7 separate regions of the Homo sapiens genome follow, and regions 1, 2, 4, 5, 6 and 7 are each linked to region 3. The links are contacts of gene promoters, found by promoter capture Hi-C in blood cells and fetal thymus (Javierre and others, 2016). All regions are on one chromosome and are shown on one strand. The core of a region is centred on a gene start or on the middle of the fragment in contact, and the rest is flanking DNA. Distances in the headings are between cores, read along the strand shown.

What was found. The method cuts DNA at HindIII sites, captures the fragments that hold promoters and counts their contacts. A CHiCAGO score of 5 or more calls a contact.
Region 1: the fragment with the promoter of TOR1AIP2 here is called in contact with the fragment with the promoter of TPR in region 3 in 7 of 17 cell types (total CD4 T cells, monocytes, naive CD4 T cells and 4 more); the score reaches 20.1 in total CD4 T cells.
Region 2: a contact is called between the fragment with the promoter of FAM20B here and the fragment with the promoter of TPR in region 3, in 2 of 17 cell types (total CD4 T cells and activated CD4 T cells). The highest score is 7.0, in total CD4 T cells.
Region 4: the fragment with the promoter of GLRX2 here is called in contact with the fragment with the promoter of TPR in region 3 in 1 of 17 cell types (M2 macrophages); the score reaches 14.3 in M2 macrophages.
Region 5: a contact is called between the fragment with the promoter of AXDND1 here and the fragment with the promoter of TPR in region 3, in 2 of 17 cell types (naive CD8 T cells and total CD8 T cells). The highest score is 8.5, in naive CD8 T cells.
Region 6: the fragment with the promoter of CDC73 here is called in contact with the fragment with the promoter of TPR in region 3 in 5 of 17 cell types (M2 macrophages, naive B cells, non-activated CD4 T cells and 2 more); the score reaches 14.7 in M2 macrophages.
Region 7: a contact is called between the fragment with the promoter of UCHL5 here and the fragment with the promoter of TPR in region 3, in 12 of 17 cell types (total B cells, naive B cells, M2 macrophages and 9 more). The highest score is 22.6, in total B cells.

Annotation. Positions count from the first base shown.
Region 1 is chr1:179,875,242-179,879,487 of GRCh38, reverse strand. It overlaps TOR1AIP2 (torsin 1A interacting protein 2), which reads left to right and starts at 1,685. Exons shown (of 7, transcript NM_001199260.2): 1 at 1,685-1,795; 2 at 2,115-2,249. RefSeq lists an enhancer at 1,351-1,710. The HindIII fragment of the contact is 9,006 bases long and covers 1-4,246 here.
Region 2 is chr1:179,023,512-179,027,363 of GRCh38, reverse strand. FAM20B (FAM20B glycosaminoglycan xylosylkinase) reads right to left here and starts at 1,470. Exons shown (of 8, transcript NM_014864.4): 1 at 1,266-1,470. RefSeq lists silencers at 684-1,423, 1,464-1,653. The HindIII fragment of the contact is 5,476 bases long and covers 6-3,852 here.
Region 3 is chr1:186,373,144-186,376,863 of GRCh38, reverse strand. It overlaps TPR (translocated promoter region, nuclear basket protein), which reads left to right and starts at 1,611. Exons shown (of 51, transcript NM_003292.3): 1 at 1,611-1,986; 2 at 3,401-3,505. The coding sequence starts at 1,836. It overlaps ODR4 (odr-4 GPCR localization factor homolog), which reads right to left and starts at 1,026. Exons shown (of 14, transcript NM_017847.6): 1 at 890-1,026. RefSeq lists enhancers at 997-1,186, 1,357-1,406, 1,567-1,866 and a silencer at 2,427-2,476. The HindIII fragment of the contact is 6,872 bases long and covers 1-3,481 here.
Region 4 is chr1:193,103,163-193,106,918 of GRCh38, reverse strand. It overlaps GLRX2 (glutaredoxin 2), which reads left to right and starts at 1,505. Exons shown (of 4, transcript NM_197962.3): 1 at 1,505-1,655. The coding sequence starts at 1,537. RefSeq lists silencers at 1,327-1,566, 1,346-1,640, 1,617-1,716. The HindIII fragment of the contact is 5,966 bases long and covers 1-3,019 here.
Region 5 is chr1:179,363,284-179,367,346 of GRCh38, reverse strand. AXDND1 (axonemal dynein light chain domain containing 1) reads right to left here and starts at 1,376. Exons shown (of 26, transcript NM_144696.6): 1 at 1,347-1,376; 2 at 741-943. The coding sequence starts at 837. RefSeq lists enhancers at 976-1,045, 1,426-1,825. The HindIII fragment of the contact is 9,843 bases long and covers 1-4,063 here.
Region 6 is chr1:193,120,369-193,124,555 of GRCh38, reverse strand. CDC73 (cell division cycle 73) reads right to left here and starts at 2,525. Exons shown (of 17, transcript NM_024529.5): 1 at 2,225-2,525. The coding sequence starts at 2,355. RefSeq lists enhancers at 2,088-2,137, 1,737-2,381, 2,408-2,477, 2,382-3,028 and a silencer at 2,638-2,717. The HindIII fragment of the contact is 13,310 bases long and covers 1,381-4,187 here.
Region 7 is chr1:193,056,698-193,060,765 of GRCh38, reverse strand. UCHL5 (ubiquitin C-terminal hydrolase L5) reads left to right here and starts at 1,406. Exons shown (of 11, transcript NM_001199261.3): 1 at 1,406-1,581. The coding sequence starts at 1,506. RO60 (Ro60, Y RNA binding protein) reads right to left here and starts at 1,154. Exons shown (of 9, transcript NM_001173524.2): 1 at 990-1,154. It also overlaps SCARNA18B. RefSeq lists enhancers at 255-987, 1,055-1,584, 988-1,720, 1,745-2,054. The HindIII fragment of the contact is 5,498 bases long and covers 1-4,000 here.

The sequences.
Region 1 (4,246 bases), core at 436-2,935, 6.5 Mb after region 3:
GGTTCCTAAATCAGTTATTTTATTTCATTTTTAATTAATTTATTTATTTAGAGACGGAGTCTCGCTCTTTCGCCTAGGCTGGAGTGCAGTGGTGCAATCTCGGCTTACTGCAGCCTCCCCCAACTCCAGGTTCAAGTGATCCTCCTGCCTCAGCCTCCCGAGTAGCTGGGATTACAGGTGCCTGCCACCATGCCCAGCTAATTTTTGTATTTTTAGTAGACATGGATTTTGCCATGTTGGCAAGGCTGGTCTTGAACTCCTGACCTCAGGTGATCCATCCGCCTTGGCCTTCCAAAGTGCTGGGATTACAGGTGTGAGCCACCACGCCTGGCCAAAATAATTATTTTAAATGAAACATTTTAGAACAATAAATTTTTTGTACAGGAACTTTTTGCTTTAGGGTAAGCAGAAGTTCATTTATTTAAAGAGATAAATCTATCCGTTGTGACTTAGTAGTACAAATGAAGTAGGCAAACAATTTTAATAAGGAAAAGATGATTAAAATATTAAACAGGAGGAAGTTAATTAAAGACATAGTAGCTGGCTCCATTTATTCCCCAGTCTTACAAATGATAGAAAAATATTTTAATGACAATACAAATGAAAATTCCTGGAAATGTTATACTGAAATTAATTAAACACAATAAAGTGAATGGAATATAGTATTCTTTTTGTTGAATTAGGACTTGCAGTTAATTATTAAACACCATCCAAGAGTGTTACCAAATCCTGTCACTTCTGCCAAGAGAGGGTGATTGAGAAGTGAAGGCACCAAAAATCACATTAAATGAGGAATTATTAATTCAATAAATACTTGAGCTACTGTGTAGTAGGCAGTCCCTGTTCTCTGTGCTGGGGATACAGCAGTGAACAAAATAGACTAAAAGACAAAAAATGTTTCCTGCCTTCTTGGAGATTATATTCTATGGGAGGAGTCGGGCAAAAATCAAAATAAGTAAAATAGTGTGTTGGTCAGGACTGTTATGGGAAAAAAAAGAGGAAAGGGGAAGGGAGTTTTACATGAATAGATTTCTTCTTGAAATTTGGTTAGATTTGTCCTGAATTGCTGTAGGTCAAGAACAGGAATTTTAGACTTACTTCATTTTTCCCCCAACAAATTGTATGTTCTTGGGTAAATTGCTCGCCATCTCTTAATTTTCACATTTATAAAATTAGTAGATCAAAACAGCTATTTTTTGTCACTACTGTCATTTAACAGAAATGCTGCATACGTCATCTAATCTACTAATAACAAACTTATGAGGTAAGTAACGTTGTCCCCATTTGACACACGAGCAAACTGAGGTTTAGATTAGGCAACTCATTGGATTACATGCTCCTCTTAATGGCACAGAGGGTGTGTTCCAGGACATGGTGCTTGCCATTATCATTTGGTACTGCTGCTCACTGTGTTGGTCCTATGAGTTTCTTCAGTCTATGAATTTCAGGTCAGGGTGGTCGACGTCTTACAGAGATGCCTGTAATCCTGTCAGCATGAGATTGCATGGGACCTCTGCGGTTTGGTCGCGCATTTACCGCGCCTGTCGCTGGGTCAGACGACCTGGCAGTAGAGGGTGAAGGATGGAGAAGGCAGAAGGCAGGGCACGGAGACTACTAGTCCCAGGATTCCACGGGCGCCTTCCGGCGGAAAGTGTTTGTCATATGGGCGGGGACCCTGGACGACATTCGGGCCGCGGCGGCCGCTGGGTGCAGCCGAGCGGTGTGGAGCGGAGAGAATACTCGAAGGGCTCTCCTGATACTAACAGTTTTACGATTTAAAACTTCGCCAGAATTTGTAAGTAAACAAAATGACTATGCAGCTTTTCCATGTTTTAGTATTGAAACTGATATCTTGAATTTTTGAAAAGGACTTTCAGAAACGGTCCCTCCCCACCCCCACCTTCGTACCGCACAAATGGTATTTTTATTTTTATTGTTTTTGAGACAGGTACTTGCCCTGTCACCGAGGCTAGAGTACAGTGGCGTGATCATAGCTCACCACAGCCTCATACTTCTGGGCTCAAGGGATCCTCCCGCCTCAGCCTCCCAAGTAGCTGGAACTACAGGCCCGCACCACCATGCCCTACTAATTACTTTATTTTTTATTTTTATAGCGACAGGGTCTCACTGTATTGCCCAGGTTGGTCTCGAACTCCTGGCTTCAAGCGATTCTCCCACCTCAGCCTCCCAAAGTGCTGGGATTACAGGCGTGAGCCACCACGCCTGGCCTCACTCAAACAGTAAACGAGGTAGGTTGGGGGTATATTTTTGTTTTGGGATAAAAAGAAACTGAATCTTATAAATATTAAATGGGTTAAGATGTGAGTAAATTTTTGGGTTTAGACTTTAAGGTGAGAAGCCGAATTATTTTAGGGTTCGAAATGTGAGTGGGAAATTTGCCTACTAGTGTAGGCGGCGATTACTCCATTCCCAACATGCCTAGGTTCTCGACATTCATAATCTTAATCCTGAAAAGATAATACTTAAAAAAAAAAAAAATTGGTGCTAAAAAGGGCAAAGTTGAAGTTTTAGTAAGACCTCCTACCATTTTGCTTACATATTATATATGTACCATTCTCCCAATTGTATTTAATACCTGATGAAAAAGTTTGTGCCTTTTCCTTCTTTTAACAAATTTCATAGTACTCTCTACTTTATGAGTAATGCTTAATTATCAGACTTTATACTGTTACACAGATCCAGAAATGAGTTACATAGATTAAACATACTGGCTTTGTTTTACCTGTCTTTAGGTTTTAACACATTTTATTTTGGATCTGTATGAGAGATCCTTTCTTTGTTTTAAGCTGTGGCAGTTATCCATGTTTTTTGAGCTTTTTTTTTTGAGCACAAGATGAGGATATAAAAGGCCAGTGGAAACATTTAATAAAAAAAGGAACTTCATGGTAGAGTAACTACAGATGTTTTTGGAAGACTTTGTGTGGATTAGAATAGTTTGAAAAACTAACATTTGTTATGAAAACTGAGTGCCTGTCTTCAGTAATGTTTATTATGCTGAACGTGCAGTCCACAACTTGATTACCTGTTTTTCTGCTGGTTTGTTACGCAACCTTGCGTGACTCATTTAAGAACTATTTTATCTAGTTTCTTTCCTAATGTAGAGGTAATGCTAGCTTGAGAGCTTCAATAATTTATAAATAAATTAACTTCAGAATGTAGCTAATTATTTGAGGATTATTGGGTGTTTTAATAATGTATTGTATCTTGTATATAACTTATTTTTGCCTAAGAAGTAATTTCTGTATTCCATTCATTTCCATGGAACACAGAAGTCAAAATTCTATTCCAGGAAAGTCCACACTTCTTTGAAGTGCCACTTGAATTTCCTGAAGGAATGTTTGCTTCAAAAAGCCTTGTCTGCTTTATCACTTTGAGGTTGTTCACTAAGTCAACTGTGAAGGCCCATAAACTTGGAGATTCGACAACTTCCAAAAAAATTTAAAGAATGAAGAATTGGCTGTTTTATTTACCATTTAGAATTTTGATTGTGTTAAAATTTCATTAATATTTCTACATCATATGAACTACTGGATTAAACTGTGTCCTACAAGAAGGAATTCATAGGGCGATCATATATTACCATAAATTTTGCACAGAAATCAAGCACTTGGGAATAAGGAAGCGTGTCCCTAACATTGGTAATGAGCATAGACTGGAGTCATAGCTGGGTTTGAATTCCTATTTTGTTACTGTGTGGGCTGTTTTCCTCTTTACTAATATTTAAAGGAGCTGGCACATGATTTTTTTTTTTTTGGTGCCATGGCTCTGGTATGAACTGTGCACATAATTTTGGTAATCGAAATTTCTGGGAAGAAAATTCACCTATAACTCCACTACCTCAACAAATCAAATTGTTTGATTTTTAGAGATTTTCCTTCAGCCCTTGACCATGAGTATCTATCATGTAAATGTAATGACATTTTTGGAAAAAGTCAAATTTTGAAACATTGGTGTCTTCTGGGGTTTTAATTATATAAATGAAGCTGTCTGGTTTTGCCTTTAATAGTTCAAATAATAATTATTTACGGTTTTTGAGGACTTCTTTTGTGCCCCTGTGGTTGCCAGTATTGCACATTATCTCATTTGATCTTCACACTGCCTCTTTCATCTAAGTACTATTATTCCATTTTGTAATTAAGAAAACCAAGGAAAAAATTAGCCAGGGGCTGGGTGCAGTGGCTCACGCCTATAGTCCCAGCACTTTGGGAGGCCAAGGTGGGTGGAT
Region 2 (3,852 bases), core at 221-2,720, 7.3 Mb after region 3:
AAGCTTAGCTCAAAGATCCTGCATAAACTCAAGGAATGTTTGTAATACATAAGAACACTGAGATCTCTAACCAGATTTTTAGAAATCAACGCCAGTGAAATTTTTGCAAGAATTTACAACGCAAAAAACATAGGCGTGGCTAATAAATGGCAATAGTAATTTGTACCAGATTATAGATTTATAAAGTCCTACAGTTTAAAGGCTAAAGGCTAAAAAAAACCCCACATTCCTACTTCCCTTCCAAGTGAGAAATCAAACCTCCAGAGGGAAGCTGGCTGGGTGGGGAAGATGCTGATATCTGGCACTAGACCCAAGTCGCAATAGCAAGCAACTCTCATTTTCCCAAATTAGAAACTCCTTATCCATCCCAATGATGGTATGGTCTTTAAAAGGACTAATAATTCCATTAAGACTAACCAAGCCCTGTTACCCCTACTTTCCCTCCAATCCATCCTTCTACCCCTTCTCTTCTTATCCGGAGACTGGCAGGTTAACAGAAGTCAGATTAGAATGAATCTCTTATCAGAACCCACAATCAAGGACGCAGCTCGACAACTATTCACATTCATCATTAAGGGAAACGTATCGGTCCGCTCTTAATCGCGGGGCCGTCACACCCGGAAATGAAATCTCAAGCGCAGCCCACTGAGGGCTAACACAGCATTCGTTAAGTTGTGCCCTTCTGCGAGCGCCCGGCGCAGGACCCCAGGAGACCGCGGGCCCCGGGCACGGTTGCCCCGCCTTCCGCCTCCGGCCTGCAGGTCACTCGCGCTTCCCGGCCACGAGGCGGGCCCAGCAAAGACCCCGCGAGGGCGCGCTCCCTGGGCTGCCTCAACGGGCGCTCCGGGGAACACAAGAGAGGCACCGGGGCCAATCGCCTCTGGGGACCGCGCAAGGGGACGAGAGACGGTCACTAGAAGGACCTCTGGCAGCCTGAGGCGGCCCCAGGTGGGCCCGCGCCTCAGGTGGGCCAGGGACGTGGCGGCCGAGGCCGCGTCCCTTCAGCCGCGACCGCACACAGGGACACGCGGCCCGAGCGGGTCTCCCAGGAAGCCTCGGGCCCTCGCCCGGGACCCGCCCGCAGCCACTCGGGGACGGCTCAGGGCACCCGGTGCCCGGCCCCTCAGGGAGGCGCCCCGCCCCCAGGCGGCCCCAGCCCGGCGCGCGCTACGTACCGTGCCCCGCCCGCGTGCCGGTCCGCATTTTCCCGCCCGCCGCGCCGGGGGCGGGGGTCGCGCGCCCTCCCCCGCCCCCGCGCCACTCACCTGTCGGGCCCTAGGCTCGCTCCATGGCCGCCCGCGCGGTGCGGTGCGGCGCGGCCCCGGCCGCCCCCGCCGCCTCCGGGGAGGGGCAGCCCCACGCCGCGCTCACCGCCCCCAGCCGCCGCCGCCGCCACAGCGGCTCCGGCCCACCCCCGGCCCGGCCATTCCCAGGCCACCTCTCGCCGCGCAGAGCGGCAGTCCCACACCCACCCCCCCGCCTCCGAGGCCCCCGGCTGTTGGTACCGTCCTAGCGTAGCGCCTGCCCGACGGCCAATCCCAGCGCTCGCTCGGCGCGGCCCCGCCCCCGCCCAGTAGGCGGCCCCTACCGGACCCGCTCCGGACTGCCCCCCTTAACCTCTTCCATACCGGGCCCGTCCGCTTAACTCCCTCGGCGCCGGCGCCGGTCTCCTGCCGGCCGCGCCGCCCTGCCCGCTTACATAAACTGGCCTCTCACTTCTCACTTCCTTCGCTCTTTTTTCTTTTTCTGTATTTGTCCTCCATCCCCCACCCCGTCTTCTCTTTTTCTTTCCTGCTTTTCTTAGGTAGGTAGGCAGCCAAGCAGCAGGACTGGAGAGTTGCGGTCCCCTAGGTCGAGTTCTGTTTGTGAGAAGCATTTTCCCTCCTCCTGTTGCCTTTTTAATTTGCCTTGACTTCTGCTCGGAACTTCTGCCTATCTAAATGTATCCCCCGCTTCTTTTGCCCAGAAAAAGGCTAGCCTTTCCACACTGAGTGCAAATGGCTCTTCATTCGGACCAGAGCGGAGCGTCCTGCTACATACTTTCAGGAGCATCTCACAAAATTATGATTCATTTACTGTAATATTAGTTGTTTTACATCTGTTTTTTGCTAAGGACCGTAAGCCCCATGAGGGCAGGTCAGTCGCTCCTGGGTCGCCAATGCCCGACCGTAGTGCACCCAGTGGGCGCGGATAAATCGTGTGAATGAAAGATTCTGCCTTCCCTTTGTTTGCTTTCAGCTGACTTATACAGAGCCGCCACTGTGTCCATCCATTTATTCACCATATACTAAAGCGCAAACTTAGTGTGCCTGACCCTGAAATATAATGCAGGTTACTCCATGGAATAAGATGCGTGATGGGGAAAGACTGAGCTGACACTTTTTCTTCAGGCCACATAGTTCATTTAATCAGTAAGGCGTACTGAACAGAATTCTTTCTTACTGGCTGTATGATACTGGATGTGCCAGTTAACTTTGCTGAGCATCAGTTTCCTTAACTGGAAAATGGGAGTTAATAACTTCACAGGGTTGTTGTAAGGATTAAGTTAGGAAATGTATGGGGAAAGTACTCTAAGATTATTGTGTATGATTAGGTGTTATTCGTCTGTATATTTGCTGAGCATTTACTATCAGGAGATCCTAGAGAAATAATTGGGCTTGACACTTGCTCCGGACAATGTAGTTAGGGAGGCAGCATTAATCACTGCAGGAGACGTACAGTCAAATGCAGAAGGCATTGTATTAGCTTTTTGCTGCGTGTAGTTGAAAAGGTTTGGAGGTTTGGAGGTCGTTTTCTGGCCGGAGAATACATAATTCTTGGGAAAATGAGCTGGAAGATAATGAGAATCTACCTTATTTCTCTGCACAGGAAGATCAGTCTGCCTGCAGTTAGCTAATCTCCCTGAACCTTGCTCACTACATCAGGAGACCATAAAGCAAAAGGGTAAATCAACAGTTCCTTTAAGACACTTTATCCAAAAGGATTCTCCTTTCTTGCCTGTAACTCTGACAAGGACAGTGAGGGTGAACGCTCCAACTGTCACTGTTCAGGAAAAGGCCAGCTTATCCTGCAGCCTCAGCTTCCTGGGCGGATGATCCCTTCTGTCTTTAAGGATTTTCAGGTGAGGGCAGGGGGCAGTCATTGCCTCTCCAAGCAACCCACTTCAGTGCTTAATTTCGCATCCATCTATCCATCCCACATACTGCAGGACAGACACACTTCCTCCTTTTCTGTCCTCAGAGAAGGAGAGCTATGGGTTCAGGGCCTCTCTGTGAAAGGCTTTCAGACGACAAAATTGTTCTGCCCCCCAGTTTTCCCTTCTCCATGTTGCATTACCCAGGCCCTTGTTGAGTGTATGCATAGCACCAGCACCGTGCCTGACACTCCATGATGTCAGTTTCTGCCCCCTCCGCCTGTACGGGATTATTTTCCAACCAATCAACAGTCAATATATTCTAAGTATTGTGAGGGATGCAATCATTTAAGAAGGGCGTTTACATGACTAGCACACAGGAAGCAGCTGCAAGGAATAGGGACACTTAAATTATGCAGCACAGACTCTGTGATCACTGAAAGAATCACAGTCCAGGAAAACAGTGTGGGCTGGTATTGAGGTGAGCAAAATACAGGTAGGAGAAGAGAGGAACAATATGAACCAAAGTTAGGCAGTGCTCTGTGAACTTACAGCCGCCATCTTCAGCAGATCCTGCGTGACAGGAGAATTGTTCATTTGTTTGTTTATTCATTCATTCACTGATGCATACATTCATTCATTTAATGAATGTCTACCAAGTGCCAGGCACTGAGCTACCAGACCATGCAGAGATGAAGAAAGCCTGGTTCCCATTCTTG
Region 3 (3,720 bases), core at 362-2,861:
TTTGAATCCTAGCAGATCTGAAAACCTATCTAATTTTAGGATTCTGTGAATCTAAGTACAGAAAAATCTACATTTCCCAAATGACAGATCAACAGTATGATAATACTGTGGGCTTAGGACATAGCATAATACTTCATATACCAGCAACTTTAATTACAATGCTTATCTAAAAAATATTTTTGGGGAAAAATCAACCTTAAGCTCCGCTGTTGATTTATTTTTCCTTAGTTATTACAAAATATCATAAAATGCTTCCATTTATATTTCTTAGACGGCTTCACAACATGATTCAAAAGTAAGAACTAGAGAAAAAGAATAAATTTCATATAAGAACTAAATCACCAATTCACAGAAGGCCCACGACTGTGGGAACTGCAGAGAGACGACACTGGGAATGCATTATTTACAATGAATAATTTAACAAATTCTTTCATAAGAGTAAACACGAAACAATCTACGGATTGAGCTTTAAAACTACAGAATTATGATCTGGAACCATACAAGTTCTGTTACTGTAGAAATTAACAATGTGTTTAAAAACTTCAGTTACAACAGTTTTCAATTTTAAAAACAATATAATGTTAGGTAACCGTTTCTGCAACGAAAAATTTAAAACATAGGCTACACTCAAAGTGCTACCGGTTTCTTTTAATTCTCCTCCTGAAGAATTAACCCGGGTCCTTAAATTCCCGGGTACTGAATCACTCAGTGCCACCTCCCCACCACCAAAAACCATTTAGGTACGCCGTTTCACACAAGGTAAGTTCGTCAGAAGTGTGTGCCGGAGTGACTGTCCATATGGTTCCAACACTGTCCCTTCCTTTTTCTCTTGAAAAGAGAGCACACACACACACACACACACACACACACTACACTTAGGCTGACTTACCTGTTTTCAGAATGTGCACTCGTGGCAGACAATTACCTCGGACGGTCTCTCCGCCGGAGATGGGGGTTTCGGGCCCAAGTACCAGCCTCTAGGGGCCAGATTCCCTCCGGTCTCAATTCACTGCCACTGAATTCATCAGAAAGCGACCTACTTCCCACACCTCACTTCCCACTCCAAAGCCAGGGACTTGGGAGTCAGGTGGCGCAGATTGATGACGTAAAAGCCCCCCCTCCCTTCCCCGCAGAGCCTCAGCCAAAGCGACTGCGGTCGCCACCCCGCCCCCTTCTGGGCGCCATAGAGAGCGTGGCGGTATCCCGGAGCCTGCCGTCCGGCCCTACCGGGACCGATGCCCTCTAGTGGCTCAGTGTCCAGAAGCCGCCAACGAGGACGATCCATGGCATCCCGGGGCTTTGACGGTAAGGTCACCAGCTCTTCAGGGAGGGCCAAGGGGTGACGAGTACGTATGTGGCGCCACCGTGCGGACAGCGGTTACGGGGCCGAGATAGGAGAGCCAGGGGAGCGGGGAGAAAAACGGAAGCTGAGAGGGCGGTGCAGCATTGGGCTCCCGGAAAAGAATGAGAAAAACACTACATTTCCCAGAGCCCTACAAGGCCTGAAGTGGGTGGAGCTGGAAGCCGGAAAATTGGGTGCGCAAGAGGATCAGGGATAGCCTCTGAGCTCGGGTTCCCAGGGTTCGTAGCTTCCAACGGCTGCGCGCGCACTTCGGTCGCGGGCGGTGAGGTGCTGTTGCTGAAACGCTGCCGCTGAGGGTGGACTCGATTTCCCAGGGTCCCGCCGCGGGAGTCTCCGGCGGGCGGGCGCGCGCGAGCCACCGAGCGAGGTGATAGAGGCGGCGGCCCAGGCGTCTGGGTCCTGCTGGTCTTCGCCTTTCTTCTCCGCTTCTACCCCGTCGGCCGCTGCCACTGGGGTCCCTGGCCCCACCGACATGGCGGCGGTGTTGCAGCAAGTCCTGGAGCGCACGGAGCTGAACAAGCTGCCCAAGTCTGTCCAGAACAAACTTGAAAAGTTCCTTGCTGATCAGCAATCCGAGATCGATGGCCTGAAGGGGCGGCATGAGAAATTTAAGGTGGAGAGCGGTAAGTGAGATGCTCTTTCCGTCCTTGGTTTTGGGCTCGACTCCCGCCCTTTGGGTCTGGTCTTCCCCCATCAAGTTGGCACTGGGTACCGCTCTGTTAACCTCACTTCCTGGGCTCTGTGGATATCCTGAGCCTTCGCTTTCCTGCTCCTTACAGTTTGATAAGAAGCCTTTGAAAAAAAAATCTGAATCTAAGTTCAGTAGCATTTTCTTTGTAGTTAGGGTAGGCTCATACAGGGACGCTTATTTTCCTTCGTCCGGCAGACGGGAAACAGACTTGATAGAGTCTGCGAACCCATCTCTCTAAGCCTAGAGTACCTTATATGTTTTGTTGCACTTCAACTGATAGTGGCTCCGCCCTATTTTCTAGGCACCTGCATTCTAGGCCTTTGCCAAATTGACCACTCTGTGCACTTGTTCTTAGTGTGTGCGTCGTCCCGTGGCTCCAGAACGAATCAGATGTTTACAAAAATGAATATTAGGTGCATAAGAGCGCTGGAAACACAGTGAATGTGCAGTACATAAATTTAATATATCTTGATTTCTCTTAAAAAGTTGGAGTTTGATAGAAAACATTAAAATTTTCTTGTAATTACCTAAAGTAGGCCTTTAAGTAAGAAAGTTACTGACAATAATGGCTTGAACATCCTTGAAAAAAATATGAAGAATATAGTCATTACCATTAGTAAAATACAAACTTCCCGTTAATGTGTTTTGGTTTACCATTTGTTTGGGGAGGTTCATACTGTTCTTGCTAAGTTGACTGGAAATTCTGAACAAGTTTTTACTTCAAAAAAAGTGTAACTGTCAAGCAGAATTGACCTTGAAAATTAGTTCTCTGATCCCAGAGCTGAGTATAGTACATTGCATTCTATTTATTAATTTGCACCATAAATATTGAATGTCTTACATGTTCCTGATACTATGCTGAACATGATATTCAATCCCTTCCCTTGGAAAGTTTACACATTTACTTTTACATATATTTAGTAGTTTTATGCTTTCAGGTAATATCTTGACTACTATAAAAGAAGTCTTTTAAAACAAAGGAGTTTTTTTTTGTCTAAACAATTTTTTCTCGTGTAATAAATACTTTATTTATTAAGCAGTTTACTGATGTCTGGAGAAAATACTAAGATAAATGAGGTTACCTGCCTTGAAGACATTGATTTGTAAAGCCCCTTTTAGGCCTTATTTTTATTTTTTATTTTTTGTCATGTAAGTCGTTTGGAAATGCTTTAAGTCCTTTTCAGTGCTCAGTCTATTTATCTTTACTCAGATTCTCTTATGTGGAGCACAATTCTAATACTGTATCTTAAGTTTTAAAATCAAGGTTATTAGAAATAAATAACAGTATTCACAATGTATGTACATGTGTTTGATTTTGTTTTTTGTTTTTTGCTTGTCTGCTGTAGAACAACAGTATTTTGAAATAGAAAAGAGGTTGTCCCACAGTCAGGAGAGACTTGTGAATGAAACCCGAGAGTGTCAAAGCTTGCGGCTTGAGCTAGAGAAACTCAGTAAGTATTTAATTCATCTTTGTAAGTATTCTCGGAGTATCGAAATCTTCAGAGACTCCTTTATATACTTTGGAAACATTTGCTTACTAAACATGAAAATATTGATTAAGCATCATTGGTTTTTATTATGGTGATATTTTGATTTTTCACTTAGTGGTAAAGATTTTGTGAGAACACAGAATTTAATGGTCAGGAGGTCTGGATTCTTATTCTGA
Region 4 (3,756 bases), core at 256-2,755, 6.7 Mb before region 3:
TAAATTTCCAAAATAGTTTTATAAAAAAATTAAAAAGCCCACAACACTATAGATAGATAACATACCTTAATTTTTATTTTATTTTATTTATTTATTTTTTTATGAGACGGAGTTTTGCTCTTGTTGCCCAGGCTGGAGTGCAATCGTGTGATCTTGGCTCACTGCAAACTCTGCCTCATGGATTCAAGCGATTCTCCTGCCTCAGCCTCCCGAGTAGCTGGGATTACGGGCATGCGCCACCACGCCCGGCTAATTTTGTATTTTTAGTAGAGACGGCGTTTCACCAATATTGGAGGGGCTGGTCTTGAACCCCCAACCTCAGGTGACCCGCCCGCCTCGGCTTCCTAAAGTGCTGGGATTACAGGACTGGCCACTGCGGGAGCTGCGGCAGCTGCGGCCTCTGGGTACGGGGTCAGCGGGCAGTCCTGTAATGGCCACATTACAGGACAGGCCATCGCGCCTGGCCACATGCCTTAATTTTCAAAGTCAAATTTGTCTTTAAAAAGAATGAATTCCTACCCTTTGGGGGTATTTATTTTTGCAACTAACTTCCATCCTTTTATTAAGTAATCAAACATAGCCCATTTGAATGTTGGAAAAGAACTGTCAGAAATACAAGTTCTTATTTTGTACTTTGGTAACATGAATTTTACACTTAGTTGAACATGAAGAATCAAAAAAGCTCTGGATTGTTGTAATAATTGTTTAGAATTTTAGATGTACCATTTGACCTTTGACTTTAAGATGAATTTCAGTGTCCTCAGTAAATAAAGGCTTACCCCCAACCTTAAATAGTGACGCACAAAGGCTATTATTACCACCACTGAGTGGCTTAAATAATCCTGTCAACAGCAATCGCCCATTTCCAAAGCCATGGTGAAACATCTCTGTGCTAATTTCTTTTGTTTTGTTTCCTAATTTTTTTTTTTTGGCAGGTGGTGGGAAATAATCTTTGTCTTCTTTGGAGTAAACCTTCAACACCGGATTTTTTCTTTTAATTATGGATGTAAACCCCAATATCCCCATAATTTACATTGGGTCTCGACCAATTGCCTAATTATAAGAGGATATATTTAGGCTCTTATTTCATCCACACAAAAACTTGTGTAACAGGTAGTTGGAAACATCTGAGGCACCACTTTGATTCTGTTTTGGATGGTCATGTTTTTTCTCCTCCGTTTCCCCAGCATGTCTGCCACCATCCTCATGCACTGCTTCCAAGTGCCTGGGAGCCTTTATGAGCGTCCCTAAACCTAAAAGAATCCAGAGGCGGGGCTCGGATGAACCCTCGAGATAAGCAAGTGAGCCGCTTCTCCCCTCTAAAGGATGTTTACACGTGGGTGGCACTCGCTGGAATCCAGCGCTCGGGCAGCCCTGGGAGGACGCGCTCAGCTGCGAGGAGGTGACCGGCGGCGGCGCGGGCAGTCCGGAGGGGCGGGACGGGGCGGGGCAAGGCGGGGGCCGGGCCGGAGGAGGCGGGCTCCCGGGATCCGCGGTGTCCGGCAGTAGAGCTCGCTGCAGATCCGGGCTCTGACCATGATTTGGCGCCGCGCGGCGCTGGCGGGGACGCGGCTGGTTTGGAGCAGGAGCGGCTCGGCAGGCTGGCTTGACAGGGCGGCGGGAGCTGCGGGAGCTGCGGCAGCTGCGGCCTCTGGGTACGGGGTCAGCGGGCAGGAGTGCCGCGGCGTGGTGCGCAGGCCTTGCGGGGGTCTGGAGAAAGCGGTGGGCGGAGGTGCCCCTTTGCCCCGGCGCCGGGTGGGCGAGGCGTACTAGCGCGTGGGCTCTGAGTCATAACACGCAGAGGCGCTCGAGGGATGGGCAGGGAAGGGTGCCCTCCGCGGCTGTGCTGACTTCAGGAGCCTGTGACTCTCGCGTTGAAAATACTTCACTCATGTTCACTTAGGCCATCCCTCTGTGAATTGCTACATAAAATACAAGACGCCGCAATCAATTGGAATTTCTCTGAAAGAGCGAATGATTCTTAGTCCAAGTGTGTCCCAAATACTGCAGTGGACATAGGAAAAACGGAACAGTTTTCTGGTGTTTGGTTACAATTCTAATTTGACCGGGCGTCCTGCATTCTTGTTTGCTAAACTTAGCCACCCTACTGCAGGAAGTGAAGGCGATGATTCCCGCTGAATGGCCAGAGCTTTTAGGATAGAGGCTGACTGATGGTGATGCCGCCTGCGGCTAGACCGAGGATAGTGCTTTCCTTACACTTCCTCGTTTGGAATATCAGCGGCTTCGGGACCTGCAGTGGAAGGGAACTGCGGCTGTGCTGCCCACGCCCGCGCGGCTGGTGCCTGGCGGTCCTGCCGGCTCGCACTTCCGCGCCTGCCACTGCGCACTTGGCCGGAGAGTCTGTCTCGCTATCTACTTGATCTGGGAGCTTCTATCAGTTTTGCAAGATTCTAGGAATCTCAAGTTTAACTTTCCAGACCAAGCTAGAGACCCCTCCTGAAGGGCTAATCACAGGCTGTTAAGTGTTTGACAGCTCTTTGAGGCCCCGCCGTGTTTTTTTCTGCGTATCCCTGGGGTCAATATAGCACTTTGCCTACTTAGCACACAGTAGGCGCTCCATAAATGTGGCATGACTAGGTGCTTCATCTGTGTTGAAATGAAATGTTTATTGTGCACTTACTTCCTCCGTGCATGTTTCTATTCATAGTTCGCGACAGTTTTTACCAAGGTCAACTAGAAATTGAAGGGAAAGGGTGTCTTCCAGAAACTTTTATTTGGGTAATATTTCAGAATGCACCTCCTACCTCCTCTCACTACCCAAGAAAACATTCTCTTGTGTTCTATTGGAGCTCCTTCAGTAGTAAATGCTGTAGTAGATGGTTTGGGTATGACAGTTTAAGTGCTGGACCTGAGATGAAAGGACTTGCTTTCTTAGTTGATAAACCAAATACAGCTTGCTGATTTATTCCACCAATGCTCTTCCTTAGGGCTAGGCCAGTGCTGCCTAACCTTTTCTGGTTTAGGCTTCAGGAACTCAACTTTCTTTTATCTTAAAGCTTCACCCTCCTCTCAGGTTGGCTGCAGTCTCCCTAGCTCGCTACCCTTAACTCCTTCCTGAGTTAAGCGCACAGGACTTTTTTTTTTGTTTTAAAGTGTTCCTTGCTAATACTATTAGGAAGCAAGGAATAATAGATTGTAAACATTGGGTAGGTTATAATGTTATAATGTTTAATTCCTGTCTCTTACTCTTCTTTGTTATAACTGAACAAACTGATGTTTGCTGTAGCTTCCTCACTCTAGGTGAGCTGATATCATAATCGTTCCCCCTTATCCGTGGTGGACACGTTCCAAGACCCTCGGTGGATGCCTAAAACCTCGGATAGTACTGAACCCTATACATGCTATTTTCCTATACATACTTGCCTATGATAAAGTTTAATTTATAAATTAGGCAGAGTAAGAGATTAACAACAATAATAAAAGAACAATCACTTTAATAACAAAATGCTCATTTCAAGGAATCCCTTGCTGAATCTTCTCATAGGCCCAGTGCTTTTTGGCATAACACATTGCTGTCAGTTGGAACACTTTTTCTGTTCTTGTCTCCACAAATTTAATACCTTTTCTGGCTTAACTAAGCACTTATACCTTGTGGCTGTAACTTGCAGTTTGAGGTGTGACATCAAAACTGCCATGAATTTTTTACTTCTTTACAACTGCACTGATAGAAGATCCGTTCTTACCATAGACCTTAGCAACCTCAGCGTGTGATTTTTTTTTTCCTATTAGGTGGAG
Region 5 (4,063 bases), core at 127-2,626, 7.0 Mb after region 3:
ACAGAGTTTCTCCATGTTGGCCAGAATGGTCTCAATCTCTTGACCTCGTGATCCGCCAGCCTCAGCCTCCCAAATGGGATTACAGGTGTGAGCCACTGTGCCCGGCCTATTTATTTATTTATTTTGAGATGGGGTCTTGCTCTTGTCTCCCAGACTGGAATGCAATGGCTCGATCCTGGCTCACTGCAACCTCACCTCCTGGGTTCAAGCGATTCTCTTGCCTCAGCCTCCAGAGTAAGCTGGGACTACAGGCGCGAGCCACCATGCCCGGCTAATTTTTGTATTTCTAGTAGAGACGGGATTTCATCATATTTGGCCAGGCTGGTCTCGAACTCCTGACCTCAAGTGATCCGCCCACCTCGGCCTCCCAAAGTGCTGGGATTACAGGCGTGAGCCACCGCGCCCTGCCTCACTATTACTTTTTCCAAAGTTCCTTAAAGCCAAAGACCAGGAACCAAAAAATACGTAACTATTGATATTTAAAATAGGTTGAATTTAAAATCATATATAAATCAACATTTGAAAAAAAGTATAAACTGTATTTAGATGGAGTAGTGAAACAGTACTCTGACTCAAAATACTGTAAAAGGAATGACTTCTTGCTTTATTTAAGCAAGTGTGTTAGAAAAATGTAGCCAATCAAGGTATTCTGAATATCAGATTTAAAAAACCGGTGAATGGAAGGTGATTTCTGTCTTACGGCCATGACTGTTTATGACTTCAGAATCAACGAAGTTTACCTCTTGTCCCTTCCTTGGCTACAGACACTTTTAACTTTTTGCTCTCAGATGTTGATGTAGAGTTTAGCGGGGTGGAGGGCGTTTTCGGGAGAGACATAATAAACAATGCCTCCTATCTCTTTAGTAATTTGAAATAGTCCTCCGGAAAGCTAATTTAGACACAAATCAGCGCCGCACTGGGACTTGCAGGCTGCCACATAGTCCTGCAGGCAGAGGAAAAAAGATTTAAAAAAAAAAAAAAAGATGACAACTATTGAGTACTTAGGTTCAGATCGCAGTTTAGAATTCATCTAGCATGGTTCTCCTTCTTCGGGGCGACCTCTATGTTCTGGGGTTATGTGTAGCGACTAAGAAGCCTTAGTGGACCGTCAGGTCGGGGTCAAGGAGCAGGGCAGGAAGGACCCGCTCGGCGGACCCCGCAGACCGCCGGCACCCCTGGTGGGGGACACTCGCTGCAGGCGGCTCGGCTGGGGACCATACCTTCCCCACAGGCAGCGCTCTCGCGCGCCAGTTCCACAAACTCGCGAGTTGGGCAGGCCTCGCACTGCTTCTTGGTTTAAAATGACGGGAAAGGGACACCCGCGATCCTACCCACACATTGCGTACCCGCCCAGCATCCGCTCACTTCCTCCTTTGCTGGAACGCCTGTTTGTCGTCATAGAAACCCAGGGCCCCGAGGTTTAGCGCCCTCCATAGGGGCTGCCTTCAGCGGTGCCGGCGGAGGAGGGAGACAGCTAAGACAATCCCTACACCCTCTTGGAGTTTCTTATGTTCTAAGTCACAGCATAGGTTCAGTAGCAAAGGAGAAGAAAAACGTTTAATCCCGCCGTTGTCACGGAATCCGAAAGTGTCTCACGCCGGGGCTTCCTGCCGCGGGCCAGGCCAGTGCGCAGGCGCCGGTGGGGGTTAGCTCGAGGGGCCGACCCCTGTAGCCCGTGACGCACGCGGGTTAAGCAAGGGTCTTCTGAGTTGTTTCCATCTTTCTAGCTCTCTTTTTTGTTGCTTTGCATATTTTTCTTTCTCTTTCTTCCTCTTTTTCTTTCTTTCTCTTTTTTTCCCCTGAGACGGAATTTCCCTCTTGTCGCCCAGGCTGGAGTTTAATGGTGCGATCTCGGCTCACTGCAACCTCCACCTCCTGGGTTCAAGCAATTCTCCTGCCTCAGCCTCCCAAGCAGCTGGGACTACAGGCAGACGCCACCATGCCCGGCTAATTTTGTAGTTTGTTTTTTGTTTTGTTTTGTTTGAGACGGAGTCTCGTTCTGTCGCGCTGGCTGGAGTGCAATGGTGCGATCTCAGCTCACTGCCACCTCCGCCTCCCAGGTTCAAGCGATTCTCCTGCCTCAGCCTCCCGAGGGACTACAGGCGGGGGCCACCATGCCCGGCTAATTTTTGTATTTTTAGTAGAGACGGGGTTTCACCATATTGGCCAGGCTGGTCTCAAACTCCTGACCGCGCCCGCCTCGGCCTTCCAAAGTGCTGGGATCATAGGCGTGAGCCACTGCGCCCGGACGCTTTGCATATTTTTCTAAAAGCCAGACTCAGGGGGATGTTGGGTAATAAGAAACGCTGGGTCCCTTATTGGGTAAGCCGTCCAGTGCTTTACATTTCGGTCACGTCTTCCTTGGACCCTTAAATGCCTCCCCCCAGAGCACAAGGAAGGCCTCCTGGGCCCAGATTTTTCACCCCCTTGGGGCAGGGAAGGAGGATTGAGCTTAGGTGGAACCAGCTCAGGTATAATTGTCGGGGCTTCTGGCGTGAAAATCTGCCCTCAGGAAAGAATACCATCAGCGGCCGGTGGCTCACGCCTGTAATCCCAGCACTTTCTTAGGCCGAGGCGGGTGGATCACGAGGTCAGGAGTTCGAGACCAGCCTGACCAACATGGTGAAACCCCGTCTCTACTAAAAACACAAAAATTAGCCAAGAGAGGTGGCGCGCGCCTGTAATCCCAGCTACTCAGGAGGTTGAAGCAGGAGATTCGCTTGAACCGGGGAGGAAAGGGTTGCGGTGAGCCGAGATGGCGCCACCGCACTCCAGCCTGGGCAACAGAACGAGACTCCGTCTCAAAAAAAAAAAGAGTATCATCAGAGCCTTCGCACTGAACTGAGGCTCGGTTCGGTGAGGGATCATTTCTTTTCTTTTCTTTTTTGAGACGGAGTTTCACTCTTGTTGCCCAGGCTGGAGTGCAATGGCTCGATCTCGGCTCACCGCAACCTCCGCCTCCCAGGTTCAAGCGATTCTCCTGCCTCAGCCTCCCTAGTAGCTGGGATTACAGGCATGCGCCACCACGCCCAGCTAAATTTGTGTTTTTAGTAGAGACGGGGTTTCTCCATGTTGGTCAGGCTGGTCTCGAACTCCCGACCTCAGGTGATCCACCCGCCGCGGCCTCCCAAAGTGCCGGGATTACAGGCATGAGCCGGATCGTTTCATATTAAGGCAGAGATTTAGTGCCAAATAATGAATCGCTGGGAGAAGCCCAGCGTCTAGTTGCTTCCAGACAGGGAGGAAACTTTATCTTATTCAATCACCATATTCCTTAGCACCAAGTAGAGTGCCTGGACAAACATGAAAATCAGTTGGACAGTTCTCTTCTGTGTTGACAGAATTACGGCTATTTTCTGGTTTTGAGTGTAATAGCTGTGAGAAATTCGAGCAAAGGGTTCAAAACAAGTCTACATGGTCCCTTTGAACTCTTCCGATCAAACATGTTGGGTGTGTTAGCATTTTAGCCTTTAGCCTTATCTCCCATTACCCTAATTTTTCAAAGAATTAAAATACACATAATAGCATTATAGAGCACACAAAATTATCCATCTTTTGTATTCTTAACCTAGTTCAAAAAAATCCAAGTACAGTATTAAGAAAGCAGATAGAAATAAGTGAACACATTCTAGAAAAACACATAAAGTATAATCTAAAGGATTTAGGAAGTGATTAGATCTGTGAGACATCAAAGGTCTCTTTTCTGTCTTGTGCTGTGGTATGGTGATCATACATAATGTCAGAGGAGTTTGAACCATAGCAACTCCATCTTGAATAGGCACTGGGTAAAATAAGGCTGAAACCTACTTGGCTGCGTTCCCAGATGGTTAAGGCATTCTAAGTCACAGGATGAGATAGCAAGTCATAAAGACCTTGCTGATAAAACAGGTCGCAGTAAAGAAGCCGGCTAAAACCCACCAAAACCTAGATGGCCACGAGAGTGACCTCTGGCCGTCCTCACTGCTATACTCCCACCAGCGCCATGACAGTTTACAAATACCATGGGAATGTCGGGAAGTTACCCTTTATGGTCTGAAAAGGGGAAGAATGAATAATCCACCCC
Region 6 (4,187 bases), core at 1,276-3,775, 6.7 Mb before region 3:
AACGGTGCAAGATCTCTAATGCAGGTACTAATATTACCTCATTCCAATCCTACCCTTCCTTCTACACTTTCCCCTTCTATATCTTTGAATCCATCTGAATATGGTCCACTATAATCAGCCCTAAACCTACTTTTCTACCTTCTAGTCCCATTTTTCCTCTAAACCAATGTATTTCAAACCACACACCATCAATTATTGTACTATGAAACCCAATAAATAGTTAACAACCATATTTTTTCTATTTTCAGAATAGAAAAGAACAGAAAAATAAAATGCACTGCATACAATAAGAAGAGTAAGTATTGTTTAGTGTTTTATATGTGTATATATTTCCATGTGCATGTGCACATATAGAAAATAAAAACAATTTCTTGGTGTGATAAACTGCTGAAAAAGTTTAAAATCTACTGTGATAAGCACTCCTTTTTCACTGGCTTCACTGGATTGCTGTCAACACATTTACTTTCCAGTTCTTTATGCCTTTAAGCATACAGCCTTTAAGTATACAGTTCACTCATCTTGGAAGACTTAACCCATCATTTAGCCCAGAGAATTCCTACCTATTCTTTAAAGCTTGTTTGTTCATTCATTCATTCATTCAAGAAAACTTTGTTGGATGTGAACTTGCCAAAGACAATTCTATGGAACCTTCTCCTAAATAACCCCAACTAGAAGTGACTGCTGTCTTCAAAAGCTATTGTAGAAAGCATTTCACATCAACTTATAGAAAGCATTTCACATCAACTTATCTGTTTAATCTCCTCTATTCAGACTAAGTTAACCTCCTTTGAGGTAGAAACCAGAGTCTTAGGAATTTTTTTAATCCTCAGATTGAACCACTTCACACCCTAGGTACTCCTTAGCCATTGTCTAAAAAAAAAAAAATTCACTAAAAATCCAACCACATGTAATTCTACCTATGCAAATTATTCGAAAGGGTAAAATACCAGAAACTCAGAATGTCATTTGATCAACATTTTATAAAGCTAATTAAATCATAAGACAAAAAAATTTTAAAACCAACCAATAGGCAGGGCGCCGTGGCTCACGCCTGTAATCCAAGCACTTTGGGAAGTGGAGGCGGGCAGATTATTTGAGGTCAGGAGTTCGAGACCAGCCTGACCAACACGGTGAAACCACATCTCTACTAAACTACATAAATTAGCCGGCCATGGTGGCGGGGGCCTGCAACCTCAGCTACTCAGGAGGCTGAGGCAAGAGAATCACTTGAACCCAGGAGGCAAAGATTGCAGTGAGCCAAGATCGCGCCACTGCACTCCAGCCTGGGCGACAGAGCAAGACTCCCTCTCAAAAATAAATAAATAAATACCAACCAACAAACTAAATTTCCCTAGTTTTTCATCGACTCTTCATAAAGCTTCCATTCAAAGAAACAAAATGAGTAGGGAAGTTGTAGCTCAAGGTTCTAATTCTAGAAGCGATGCACCAATGACAGTGACATCATTAAAAAGGCCCCTAATGACTGTTAGAGCCGTCTCTAGAAGTTTTCCTGAATGACTTAAACTGATAAAACTTCACATGGACCAACATTCCCAAACATTTCCCTTTAAAATACACTTCCGAAAAATCACACGCACCATCTATTTCTTAGATCTGTAAAGCTCACTCATTTCACCAACTCCTGAAGACCTCTCTAACACAGACTTTTATGACTCTTCCAAATTCACCAAATTTCTTTCCGGTCCTAACTTCAGGGTTGATTCCCTTTTCTCTTCTACAGGAATCACCCCCACCCCAACAATGAAAGGAGATGAAATAAACCAGGAGTTGCAAAGACCAGCGGAGATAGTTACATAGCAGCCTGGAAAAGAGAAAAAAAAAATAAAGAACAAAAAGAGGCGTCTACGGCACCAGACGGTGTGCTCCTTTGTGCACCTATGTTCAGGTATCCCTTGCGCACCAGTCCCACACTTCGCTGGTACACATACCTACTGATAAAAATTAACTGTAAAAGTCAGAAACTCCCACGGTACCTTTCCTTTGGGCTTCTCAAAAATTTTAAGTGATGAACTGCTCTAGAGCTCCGCCCCTTCTTTCCTTACCCTAAAAGTGCAACTTCTGCTCTAGAGAGAAACTTTCTTTTCCCCGAACACCCGTTTTATCCCATCCCCAGGGGAAACGGGGGGAGGGGTTAAGAAAGAGGTCGCCTGGGGGCGCCCAACTCTGCCCTGCCACCCCTGGGCCACAGCCATGCCGGACTTACCCCCAAACAACATAGTTGGTCTTCACATTCTTGGGCCAGGAGAACTCCCCGAAGATCACTTCGTCTCCCTTCACCACAATCTCCTTCTTCTGGATGTTGTACTGTCGCAGGACGCTAAGCACGTCCGCCATCTTCCCCCCCCTCGCCTCCGCCGGCTCGGGGCGCCGCCGCTGCCGCCGCGCCTGCCTCCTTCTTCTCTTGTCGCCTCGCCCTCTTCCTCCTCCTCCTTCGCCGCCGCGACGAACCAACAGCAGCAGCACTAACAGCCGTCCTCGCCTACGACAGCAGCAGGGGCAGTAGCCACCCAGGCCGCCGAGGACCCCGCGCTGTAAGGCAAGGCCCCGCCGCCGGCTGCCCGCGGAGAACGCCTGACTGCGCCCCTCCAGCGAGGCACATCCGCCGCCAGGGGGAGCCGCGACCGCCTGGAAAAGTGCCCCTCCCAGACTTCAGCTGGGCACGGAGCCCACTCACTCGCTGAAACGCTGAGCGCTGGGGCACCGCGCCCACGTACGGCGCACGTACGGGGAACTTTGCCGGGCGCGCGCGCGCGGAGCACGTACCCAGTACCCCGCGGCGCGCACCAAGCGGCGTCAGGTGCGCGCGTACCTGAGCAGTGGGTCAGCACTTCCATCCCCAGCACGTGCACTGAGTATTTAACGAACTGTCTCGGGTGCGACCAGAGGCTCCCCCGGGTCCCTGCTTTGGCCGGGATGGAATTCGGCAAGGATTTGCGGAACACTAGAATTACCTTCCTATTTAGATCGGACCCAGGCCTAGCCAAAGACCTCTAGGACTTAGTGATCCGGAGAAGCCCTTTTGAAAGAGTGGGGCTCTTGGGGTTGGGGTTGGGGTTTTTTGTTTGCTTTTGATGTGGAAAAGAACGAGTTTTGGTTTTTTGTTGGTTTTGAGTGGAAAAGACCGAGTCCAGAAAAAAAAAAAAACAGTTCTGGGCACTGCTCGTCAAGTTACATAGCTTCTCACAGCATCAATTGGTTAATGAAGAAAATGGGGTTAATACGAAGATAAGGTAAACGCGCCTAGCAAGTCAATAAAATATCCTAAATGTTGGATCCTCCCTCTTCATTCTTTGGATGATGACTTTTTCCATCGCGGTCCCTTCTCCCCGCCAATCCCGAAGGGCTATATTCAAAAGGCTGTGTTCCAAGATGTAAATGGGAAAGTTGCCCTAACAGAAACCCCAAACGGTCCAATTTAGAACACTTCCAGACTACCCAATTTTTTAAATGGTACTCAGAAGTCTCAGTGGTGTCCTTGACATGCGTTTTGAGACGGTTAAGATAAGTTCAATATACTATGGCCAACCAAACACATCCTATGGGATTGTTTTTTTTCTTTTACCATGTCAGAAGGAAAAAAGAGGCAACTTTGTGTTTGACATAACCAAATTCCTTGACCTGTTTTGAAAAAAGTCAATCTTTTCACAACGCAGAGGACTACAGATACAGAAGTGTGTGGTTCATTTCCGATATGATCTGTAGCCATTCTGCAACTGTTAGTTTGTGAAATTTTTTTCTGTTCCACCAATGTTTTCACCCCGTAGTATTCTCCTGAATCTCACCCCAAGCACACACATTATAAAGAAATGGCTACAATTACCTATCCCCACATTCTCTATTCATACCTGTGTCAGAGCACTCAGTACCATATTACTTCCCTTTATAGTTTATTTGCCTGCATCCACAAAACTGAAACACCATAGATCTGTGTCCTCATATCCTACTGTCTAACATTATTTGGTACATATTAGTAATAAATGGATGAATTCAATAAATTGATGGAAGCTCCTAGTAAATATCGAGTTAATACATGGATAGAGGCTTCTAATAAATGTTGAAGTAATGAATGGAAAGATAAGCTCAAGGAAGCCAAGATTTCATGATTAGGAGGCTCGACTATAGTCCCTTCAAACGATACTTAATTTTATTTCATACTCAAATAATGA
Region 7 (4,068 bases), core at 157-2,656, 6.7 Mb before region 3:
ATAAACTTCAAGAAAGTTACAAAAAAAATTTTTTTTAAACCAACACTTCATACAAATTTTGGCTTCTACCCCATAGCGTACTCAGGCTCCTTTTAATACAAAAGCTGCTCTGTTGCTTCCCTCAATAAAATTTACCACGTTTATTTCATGGCTTCACATAATCTGTAGCACAAGGCTCCCTAACTCCAGGGCACAAGTCACCTATTTGAGAAGGAAGGAGTCAGAGTTTTACCCACTAAAACATTTTTTTTTTCTGGAAGCCAAAGGTCTTTCTTGGAATATGTAGCTTTTAAGGAGTAAATATACACTTAACGACTTCAATATACTCTTAAAAACTTTAATCTTAACACTATAGTATTCTATAAGAGCCTGCTGAATGAGGGCAATTTAGTAAATATTTAGTAAATATTTGGTTTAACTCATCATCCAGTTTTAGAACCATTCCAAATGTTTTTAGATTAATACACGACATTTGTTTTCAACCTAATTTTCCCTTGACGCACCGCATCCCCTTCCACTAGTCTAGCAGCCCCATGGACAAACCTTTCTCCTCTCCCTCGTTATTCCTCTGTGATAAATTCACCCTGTCTTCCCACAAAGATCCTTCTTCCAAAACCCAGATCCCGGGCGACGCCTCTCCGCGCAGAAGCCGCGGGAGAAGGAGGAGAAAGAGGAGGAGTAAAGCAGGCCCTCTCGACGTCGGCCTGTGGGGAGCGATGCCGACAAGCAGGAGCGGTCCCGGCTTCGGAAAGGGCCCACCCTGAGGAATGGTCCGGCCGGGCCTAGCGAGGATGTCCCTACCGCGATGCTGGTTCCGTTACCCAGGGTGGACAGGCGCGGAAGCGGGACGGGGAAGAGCGATAGTTTCGCGGCGTTTGCCCAGCCTCAACCCCTGGGATGCGGGTGAGAGACATGGAGGACTGGTCAGAATTTGCGCGTCCCTGGGGCCGCACAAAAGGCTCCCAGCCGGCCTCCCGCAATGTCCTCACCTGTACCTGGCAGCCGACCCCCTGGATCCGCAGCGCCGCCAGGAGAAGTCCTGCGCAGCGCTGGGAAACGACAAAAGAAGGCAGCCTGACGGGCAGCGACAGCCACAGCAACAGCAACAGCCCCACTGCCGCCGGGGATTCCAGGTTCGGTTCCCGGGAACGAGTCCTGCCCCTCTTCTTTTGCCCCGCCTCCGCCCCAGAGGGGCGAGGATCCCGGATGTTGCCTCCTCGGCGCTGTGAATCACCGCCCTTTCTTCTCAGGCCCCAGCCCTTCCGAATCCGCTACGGGTGCTGCAAGGCCTGGGAAGAGTTTCGATGTCTCTAGGGTGGCTAGAGCGTCCTCCCGCGCTCAGTCGCGCTGCAGGTGACGGCGCCCGGAGGCTGTCGGGAAGTAGGCGGGGTGACGTGTGGTTGACGAGCTCGGCGGCGGGTTTGCTGAGATCTGTGGCCGGCGGCAGCTGGTGCGGGGGGCAGCTGAGAGCGAGAGGTGGATCGGGGCGGTGTGTGGCCAGGGCCATGACGGGCAATGCCGGGGAGTGGTGCCTCATGGAAAGCGACCCCGGGGTCTTCACCGAGCTCATTAAAGGATTCGGTGAGAACCAAGGGGACCGTCCTGGGCCTGGGGTCACGGGAGGAGGCCCAAGCTGGGCATGGAGTGGTTCCCTGCGGCCACCGCCGCCCCGCGTCTGGAGAGGTGACTTCAGGAACCTGGAGTCCGGGTGGGGGAAATGTAGATGTTCTGCCCTCTCCTCAGCTCGAGACAGTCGCGTTTCCACAGTAATTTGTAGAGCCACACCACGAGGGCAAGGATCGTGTCAGTCTTGTGCCTGCTGCATCCTCAGGACCTGGCACCCAAATCCTGTAATTGACTTGAGGGCCCTCGCTCCCCAAGCTCTTAAGCACGTATTGCCCTTTGCACTGCCCCTTCTCTGCGGCGCGCACCTTATCCCGGGCTGGTGAGGTCAAGTGCATTGCTCAGGCCATTAGTCCTGCAGAAGCCACCCTAGGGTGCGCCTTCTCAAGGGTGAGGTGTCTGCGGCTCAAGCCGCCCAGGAACTCGAGATTCTGGTTATTCAAAGCAGAACGCCTTGAATGTGTGAATAGCTCTTCGGGACGTCCACACACGCTGACTGCGTGGGCCTGAAAGGCCACTTCACTGGTTCCGCTCTCTGCTCATTTCTGGCTTCCGGTGAAGTGAGTTTTCTTGAGCTAGTGTTCTAGACTAGAGGCCACATGCTTTCCTCACAGTTTCTCTCTGGCTGTATTTAGTGCCTTTCGTCCTAAATAATCAACACATTTTACTTTTTATCCTTCCCTATTTATCTTGTTCTTAGTCTCTTCTTTGGACAGTACGTTTTTATCTATTTCCCAAGTGTTATTGACTCTACGATGTTAAAACTTTTACGCGGGATTAACAATTAAACGTTGATGTAGATATTGCCTGTTGTACACAGCTTAATATTTGGAATGTCATTTATCAAGCATATGTTGTTCATCTTCTATATCTCAGGCACAGTGGTAAGGATTGGGAAATTTTCTTTTTTTTGTTTGAGACAGAGTCTCGCTCTGTCGCCCAGGCTGGAGTGCAGTGGCGCGATCTTGGCCCACTGCAACCTCCATCTCTCGGGGTCAAGCGAATCTCCTACTTCAGCCTCCCGAGTAGCTGGGATTACAGGCACGCGCCACCATGCCCGGCTAATTTTTTTTTTTTTAGTAGAGACAGGGTTTCACCATGCTGGCCAGGCTGGTCTCAGCTCCTGACCTCGTGATCCACCCGCCTCGGCCTCCCAAAGTGTTGGGATTACAGGCGTGAGCCACGCGCCCACCCAAGGATTGGGAAATTTTCATGTGAATAAACCATAACTGCTGTTTCGAATAATTGACAGTCAAACTATAATATGGTGTGTTAATTGCTATGTTAGAGTATATACAAAATGTTAAAAGTACACAGGTCATGGAGGAGCACAGCCAGAAGGAAAAGCATAAACAGTAGTGATGTTAAAGTATATGGGTTAGCCAACAGCTAGCAAAGTGACTAGAACATAATATAGCAGACTGGAGGAATATTTATTTGGATCTGAAACTGAAAAGATAAACTGAGGACAGATTGTATGCCATGTTGTATAGTTTGAATTGCCCTGTAGTGACTGGGGATTTACCTATCAAATATATTTTAATGCTGAAATGACATTATTTTCATAATTAAGGTTTATTGTGCTTTTAAGTGTGCAGGGCAGGTTGGAATAAAGTGAGAGAAGCTAGACATCTCTTAAAATGGTTGGAGTCCGAGATGATTGGCTAAACTAGTGGGTTAGGAAGGAGGAGTTAGATTCAATAAGTTTGCTATATTTAAATCAACAGTTGCATGTGGTAATGTCTGCTCTTCATTCCTTTGGGAGCAGAAATACATCCATAACACGCTAAATTAAAAAAGGAGTTCTCAGGGCTGCCAACCTTACAGTAGAGGTTGAGTGGTAGTATATTACTCCTACATAAGAGAAAAAAAATCAAAAGGACTGCTTACTAAAAGTTGGGGAAAAAAAGAGGCAAAAATAACTCCCTGGTTTCTAGCCTGGGTGGCTGGTGAAACACTCTTACAAGTGAAGAGCAGGCTTGATGGACAAGAAAATGGATTCAGATTTGGACAGACACTGAGTTTGACATGTCTGCAGATTTAGTCATATATTTTACGTTCAAAACCTTAACAATATGTTAAAGTTAACTTTCAGAAATGTTGTACTAGGTAAGTTTGTTTTTACTCCTTCAATTTCATATGTGCAGAAAACTTGGAGATCATGCATGAAAGAATGATATATAAATTCATCTTCTGTACATGCACATATGAAAAATCAGCAGCTATTAATAAATTGGCTTCATTAGCAGAAGAACCTGCAAACAATTAAATGGTGGTAGTTTATGTCACCATCAGATGCTTCAAAGAGAAAATCAGTTTATTCCAATTATTTCCATCATTTTCATTTTTTCACCCAATTTATAGATTTAAAAAAGCTTTTGGCTGTTGATTCTTTCAAAAATGAAATACCTGTATTGTGAATGCTGTCATAAATTCATTTCAAAA